Linked DNA regions of Homo sapiens: region 2 is linked to region 1. The links are contacts of gene promoters, found by promoter capture Hi-C in human tissues and cell types (Jung and others, 2019). All regions are on one chromosome and are shown on one strand. The core of a region is centred on a gene start or on the middle of the fragment in contact, and the rest is flanking DNA. Distances in the headings are between cores, read along the strand shown. Region 1 holds the start of LRRCC1 (leucine rich repeat and coiled-coil centrosomal protein 1). Region 2 has its middle 51 kb from the start of LRRCC1.

Region 1 (3,825 bases), core at 788-3,287:
TGTTAATATCCCAGTTTGAATCTGCATTCTATCACGGTTTTGCTGTGTGATTTGAGCAAATGACAACCTGAGCCTCAGTTTTCTTACCTCAATTAATTCTCACAATAACTCTAAGCAGTGGGTATCTTAAGGATACCTAAATTTATGGAAATTAAATAGCTTGCCCAAATTCTTGCAGCTAACAGAGCATATGTAAATCCAGATCTCATGCTGGAGATTATAACTTTATTTTCTTCTTTGTGTGCAATAGCTATTTAATCCACAGTCTATTGCATTTTCAAAAACAAACCATGTTATTGCAATTCCTATTGAAAAAGTCCCTGTCCTCCCTTGTTGAAAGTTAATGGATCTCCCCTAAACAGAACTCATCTCTTCACTCCAATTACTATTTATAACTGAAGCTTCTCCTGAAGATAGTAGTTCCAGGAACACAAACTACAGCATACACAGTTTGGAGTTGCTAGATGGGAGATACACCCAGGAACACACAATGTCACGGGCATCTGCTGTAGGTTGAGTAGCAGCTATCTTACAGCTGTAGGAAACCTAACTCTGACAGCAGGGAAGCATTTGCAAATTTCAAACTAGCAACCTTTAAATGTGACTATCTGGGGCATTTCCCACTTATCCTGCTGTGTCATTTACTTGAGTTCTTATTTAGTGCCAGACCTTATGCTGTTAACACATGCTCTTAATGACAGTCATTTACTTTCTGACACATTTCAGTTTCTCGACATTAATAATGTGCAGATAATGTGAGATAGAAAAAGCATAGTGAAATTAGACGGAAAATGGGTTTGAATCCGAACTTAATTCTTCATGAAGTGTATAAAGATGAACAAATTGTCAATAGATTCTGAGTCTCATTCATCACTTGTAAATGAGAAAAATTACTACCTTGTAGAATTGCTGTGAGGATTACTGATAATGTATATAACATGCACACAACAGATAGCATTCAGTAAATGGCAGCTAGTATTAAATAGAAATGTAAAATGTCCCTTGAACAGCATCTTCTTGGGATCATCTGGCAAAGTTTAAATCAGAATCCAGAACAAGATGCTTAATTATCAGTAGCAGAGTTCGCGTAGAGGACACGCTACAAAGGAACAGCATGTGCAAAGGCACAGAGAAGTCTGCTATGGAATTGCCTGTAGCTCAGTACAGGTAAATAAAGTGTAAGTGGAGAAATGTTACGGGTCGAGACTAAAGAGCCTGAAATGCAGGTGGAGACCTGCTTTACAGTATTACAGAACCAAGTGCCTCATATGCTTTGCACAAGTCAGGGCTTCAAGAGAGAGGGAAACGATGAACTAAATATAGTAAGTTTAGTACTTTCAAAAAGTATATGAATATATGTATTGCAATGTTCTGTAACGGACAAATGATTTCGAATGCAGACAAGGAGAACTGAGGCAAAACTAACAGGCAGCAGCGACTGCCCGCTCATAGCTGCCAGAGATACTATCCTGCAGGTTTTTTTCAGAGGTAAGAACAGGAAAGACGAGAGAACACGAGAAAACCAGCAATTAAACGGCAAGCAAAGGAATAACCACCAGTAAGTAAGGAAAACCAGCAGAAGGAAAGAGTGGTCAGAAGCTGGTGGAGGACAAGGTCCTGGGGCAGTTTCTAGGCTAAGCAGAGTCGTGTGAAACGCTGGGCAGGAGACACGGGCGGGAAGGCATCCACGGCTCATTCAACCTGGCACTTCGGCAGGTAAGTTTTGGAGGAGCGGGGAGGCCGAAAGCCAGACTGCGTTCACTTATGGTCTTGGTAAAGCAGTGCCGCGCCTCCACTCTGGTGTCGCCGCCAGCCACTCGTGGCCCCGGCTCTGGGGAGTGCGCGGGTCGCTCCTGGCTGCGGAGCGCCCTTTACCTCTGCAAGCCTTTGTCCATGAAGCATACATCCCCGCAGCTGCTGTCGCCGTCTTCGTTTTCCACTTCCGCCTCTGCCGCCACCACCGCCGCCGCCGCCTCCATAGCACTGGCGACGGGGAGCGGGGTCTTAACCGGCACCCAGCGAGGGGTCCGTGAGCTTGGGACAAGCCTCCCGGAAGCGCGGAAGGGCGGCCCGAGGGGGCGGGGCGGGGCGAGGACCCACCCTCCAACCGACAGCCGGGAACTTTCCCGCCTTGACGGTGACGCAAAACTGGAATCCTCGTCCCAACTGTGGGCTTCTTTCGTTTTTACAGCATCTGCGGTGCGACTCTTGAACTTGCTGTAAAGTAAAACTGCTTCCCGGGCGTGTAGGAGCTGGAGAATGAATGGATTTGTCCTGTGTGCTTCTGTATATTTGCCTAGTAGCCGACTGACTTCTGAAGGCGGTTTTCACAGCGGTTTGGCTTTACGTGCCTTTACATAGCCTTACATACGTATAAATTGTTCCTCTGGCCATTGCACCTCCTGTTGATTCATTGAACAATTTGTGGGATGCCTTACTGTATGTCAGTCACTTCCCTGTATGAGGAAGAAAAAGATGAAGCCTATTCTTGTTCCTGGAAACATTCGCAGCCCCATAGAGGAAACAGAATTGCCATACAGTATGACGAATGCTAAGAATAACACAAGGGCATCGAAACCAACTCTAGAGTGATATGGGTAGTGGGTACGTTTTCTAAAAGAAGTGATTGATGACTGAATAGAGTCTTGCTGGGTTAGGGGGAGTTCTGGATGAATGGCATTACAGGTGGGAAAGCAATACCTGTGTGAGGTCAAATAACCCTCCTGGCTAGATTGCTTCCTAAGGCATAGTAATATTTTAAAACGGAGCAAATGGTGCAGTAGTCCATTTGAAGTGGACTATTTCCTTTTGAAATAACTCATATAGACAAAAATAAAAAAGATGTTTTAAAAAATGAGCAAAACCCACATGACATGTAGGACACCATAAAGTGACCAAATATTCAAAATTTTGGAGTCTCAGAAGGCAAAGAGAAAACAATAGAGTTGGAAAAATGGTTCAACAAAATACTATATGAAAACTTCCCAAGTCTAGCAAGAGATTTAGACACCCAGGCACAGGAGGCCAAAGGTTCCCAAACAGATACAATGCAAAAAGGTTTTCTTTTAAAAAAAATTTCATCTCACTTTTTATTTTAGATTCGGGGGTACATGTGCAGGTTTGTTACATAAGTATATTGCACGATGCTGAGGTTGTGGCTTCTAATGATCCTGTAACCCAAATAGTAAATATAGCGCTTGATAGGTAGTTATTCAACTCTTGCCTTCCCCCTTTTGGAGTCCCCAGTGTCTATTGTTCCCATCTTTGTGTTCATGTGTATCCAGTGTTTAGCTGCCACTTGGAAGTGAGAACATATGGTATTTGGTTTTCTGTTTCTGTGTTAATTCACTTAGGATAATGACCTTCAGCTGCATCCATATTGCTGCAAAGGACATGATTTTGTTCTTTTTTATGGCTGCATGTTGGTGTATATGTGCCACATTTTCTTTATCCAGTCTATCATTGATGGGCATCAGGGCTCATTCCATGCCTTTGCTACTGTGCTGCAATAAACATATGAATGCGGGTGTCTTTTTGGTAAAACAATTTATTTTTCTTTGGCTAGATACCTGGTCATGGGATTCCTGGATTGAACGGTAATTCTATTTTTAGTTCTTTGTGAAATCTCCAAACTGCTTTCCACAGTGGCTGCAATTTGCATTCCCACTGATGGTGTGTAAGCATTACTTTTTCTCTGCAACCTCACTAACATCTCATATTTTCTGACTTTTTAATAAAACCCACTCTGACTGCTGTGAGATGATATCTTATTATAGTTTTGATTTACATCTCTCTGATTATTAGTGATGTTGAGCATTTAAAAAT
Region 2 (3,825 bases), core at 994-3,493, 51 kb after region 1:
AAAATGATAAGAGTAAGTCCTCGCTTATCAATAACAACCTTGAATGTAAGTAGTTTAAGTTCCTGAATTAAAATATATAGACTGTCTAAGTGGATAAAAAACAAGACCTAACTATATACTGCCTACAAGAAATTCACTTCACCTGTAAAGACACACAAAAACTGAAAGTGAATGGAAGGAAAAAGATATTCCACACAAAAAGAAATCAAAAGTGCGTAAGAGTAGCCATGCTTATATCAAACAAAAAAGACTTTAAGTCAAAAAACATAAAAGAAGCTGGAAAGGCATTACATAATGATAATGATAAAGGAATCAGTTCAGCAAGAGGTCATAACTATGCTTCAGTATTACACACACACACACACACACACACACACACACACCCAACACTGGAGCACCCAGATATATAAAGCAAATATTATTAGAGCTAAAGAGGTAAGGTATCTTGGGTGGCATGTTATGCACATATTTGTTATTTCACCATTTACTGGCTAGCAAGAGATGACAAGAATATGTGTCTAGCATGGGCAACTGAGCCTCACTTGGTATTTCATTTAGCATTGCAAGTGTGTGATGTAGCTGCCTTGTCTGGTGCAATTTTATGTGACCAGATATGCACAGGTCTGAATTCACAAAAGACCTCATTTTCCTAATCAAGAACATATTTAAAAGAGAGTCATACATGTCCAGAGGACTTTACCTCCAGGTATGTTGAGAAAGAGAGAGAGAGAGACACTAAAGGTAGAGGTTAGCAAATTGAAGATCTTTGAAGCATACCACTTTCTTTTCTGTATACTTGATTTCTAAAAATGTAGAAGTGAAATTTTACTTTGCCATAGTAAATTCTAATAAATGCAGCTTTGCTTAATTAAACTTTGGTGATATTTTTGGAAATTCAACAATGTGAAAGTTCTACCAAGATCCATTCAAGAAATCTTCATTGCAGCAACTCAAGACGCTCAACTCAAAAACAGTGTGCTTCACCAAGGTTCCTTGAGCCTCCTGTTTGGGCTATGCTATCTCACACTACAGTATGAGATGTTTCACCTTGGGTCTGACCTATGATTTCCTTTTCGTTGAGCTCCCAAATGCTAAGGTTATTTTGTTTCCTCAGAAATTAGATCTCTTTTAAGAATCCTTTTATTATGTAATCAGATTTAAAAGTTTTTTGCTTATTGGAAAACTGCCTTGCTAGTAATAACATTATTTTCTCTGTCTATCCTTCTCCTTATTTGTTATGATTCTGCTATAGTAAATTCATAGGGAAGAGGTCCAGTATAGGGCCTGTTAAATCCATTCTTTAAGACAGTCCTGGGACCTAAGAAATTCAGAAGCTTTCTCCTCAGAATGGCGTTCTTTGGATACATTTTGCCTTCAGTCACTTATTAAAAACCTTATGAAAACTTTACCCACACTTACCTTGTTTTGTCTAGTGAGAGTCTGACTGTGGAAAAGATCTCCTCTTCAAACCTTTTATCTACTAGGAAATGCGTATTTTTCAGACTATAGGCAGCCCACCAATTAGGTTGTGGAGTCTCGAAACATGAAGAGCATAAGCAATGCGTTCAACTGATTGTTGCCTAGAATATGACATCTTACTAGAGGAAAAATCTGCCGGGCAGAACTTATCATGGTCACCAGAGCTTTGCCAACTAGTGAGTAATAATAGAGTTAAGACATATACTGAGAGTAGTATGCCTTTGGAGTAGTCCATGATTTTGGAATACTGAAAAAATGAGTTTTTTGTTTTCTTTAACCTCTGTAGAAATCCTAGTGAAAAAAGTGAAAAATAATCAGCTCATTTAAGAATTTGTAGGTGTTTTAATGCTTTCTAAGAAGGTGACTATGATAAAAGTGTGAATCCATACAACAAGGCAGATCATTGAGGCTAAAAGAAATGCTCAAGCTGCTGATTGATTACACCTGACAGGCAGCCCTCACAAAAGTACTGGCCCATATAATGCTGACTAGAATGGTTCCCACAGGCTACTATAAAATGCCAGCAATGTGGCATCACACTTTGGTTCCAAGTGTGAAAGAGTTACTGTGGAAAAATCTGGTAGAAAATTGGGCAATTGATGTCTGGTGCTTTCATAAGGAGTGCTTTGTGATGCCAGACATTACAAAATATCCCTCAAGCCAGAGAGGACAAATCAGCCATTGTACTCAAGCAACTAGTGGAGGGGAGGGGACTTTTTGCGAAGGGATGAGGTGGCTTTGTGCATGTCTGATCTAACAAACATTGAAAAATTCTTATGTTTAATATTGTGTAATCAAAGTTCCAGTTGAGACCAAATAAGGCTATCAATAATAGTACCATTTAGACAGGATCTGAAAACATGCTGCTTTGCACCATGGCTCAGTGTAGAAGTGCACAACGGGGAAGAAAGAAAAATATATGGTACCTATTAAAAATTATATACCTTTAAAAGTTGAAACTTAGAATAAGAAATATCTATCTGCAGTCATACTCCTGATTCTTCCTCCCAGAAGAAACCATTTTCTGTTATTTTCAGCGCTTGTGTCCATATTTCTAAATATAATTTTATCATTTTAAAACATTTTCAGTTTAGATATTAAAATGGTTAACTAAAGAGATTTCGCTCTTTTACATGAATGTACCACTTCCATTATTTTCTCTCTTCCCATCTTCCCAAAGTAGTTGTATCTCAATTGATTAAATTGATATTTGGTTTTTACACCATTATCACCTTTTAAGTATCATTTTCAGCTAAGCAATTTATTAAATTTATTTTTTCTTGTATTTTTTATTTTCTATTTTTCTTTCATATACCTCTTACTAATTAATTCCCAAATATTTTGATGGAACTGCAATCTCTTGTCCATATATCCAAGCAGCTGTTTTGTTTTTTGTCATTTTTAGATATTTCTTAGAGTTCTCAATCCTTCTCCTCCAATTTTTACTGGTTACTTTCTTTGTTTCACAGATGGAATCTTGAGATTCTCCATTATGATCAATCTGGGAATTTCCCTTTACCTCTTTCCTTCATCCTGTGTCCTGAATACCATGTTTTCATTATTTCTTGGTTTATGCTCTGCTGGAGTACAAATCCTACAGTAGAGTCTTGAGAAGGGCTGTAACTATTTTGCCTTCAGCTTTTGAGATGTTTGGGGATTCATCTTCTTACTGGCTTCCTCCAGTCTTCCTTAGTTATCAGCTTTCTCTAAAGGCAATGTCAGTTACTACCCATTCTTCTAAGTTCTAAAATTTTGTTAACATCTCTTATTTGCTGCTGTTTCCTACTCTGTTCTCTTTATCTTTACACATTGTGCATATTTTATTCCTTTATTGTCATTGTAGTGGGGTTTCAGGAGGGAGCAAGTAGCAGCACCTTTGTTCAACATACCTTGTTAACTATAAAACTCTCATCAGATTTTTAGTTACCATAATCGAGAATGACTAATCTGGTGTGTATACAGTGAAGGCCAGAAGTAGCTCAGGAAAAAAGTCATTCAACAGGCCAGTTGATGTATTAAATTGCTGCTGCCAGATGGAGGTTATGCATTCTTCAATGTTGAGGATATTGTGGACTTTTCCTCCTGTTTTCATTTTTAGTTTCACTAAACAAAATGGGCACTAGATGGCTCTATAAAAGCATATATATTCAGAACATTCCATTCAGCTCAAGAATTAAGCATAAAATCTTTTAGAACAAAAGAAAATTTAAGCATTTTTTTAGTTATGAGAAAGTGAGTTGAAAACTATTACTAGCCATTAAGGAATAAATTACGCACTTGTAAATTTTTGAAGTGTTCTTTATTGTCAGTAAATATTTATCGAATATGTACCAAATGCCAGGTACT

What was found. Contacts are between HindIII fragments. The study calls those that stand out against the background at their distance.
Region 2: a contact is called between a fragment that was not itself captured here and the fragment with the promoter of LRRCC1 in region 1, in 1 of the 25 tissues and cell types used here (hippocampus).

What each region holds. Positions count from the first base shown.
Region 1 is chr8:85,105,450-85,109,274 of GRCh38, reverse strand. It overlaps LRRCC1 (leucine rich repeat and coiled-coil centrosomal protein 1), which reads right to left and starts at 2,037. Exons shown (of 19, transcript NM_033402.5): 1 at 1,876-2,037. The coding sequence starts at 1,979. It overlaps LOC105375933 (a long non-coding RNA gene), which reads left to right and starts at 1,413. Exons shown (of 3, transcript XR_929117.3): 1 at 1,413-1,716. RefSeq lists an enhancer at 1,866-1,925. The HindIII fragment of the contact is 9,097 bases long and covers 1-3,825 here.
Region 2 is chr8:85,054,384-85,058,208 of GRCh38, reverse strand. No RefSeq gene overlaps it. Among named protein-coding and RNA genes, the nearest start is that of LRRCC1, 51 kb to the left of the region's middle. The HindIII fragment of the contact is 3,395 bases long and covers 546-3,825 here.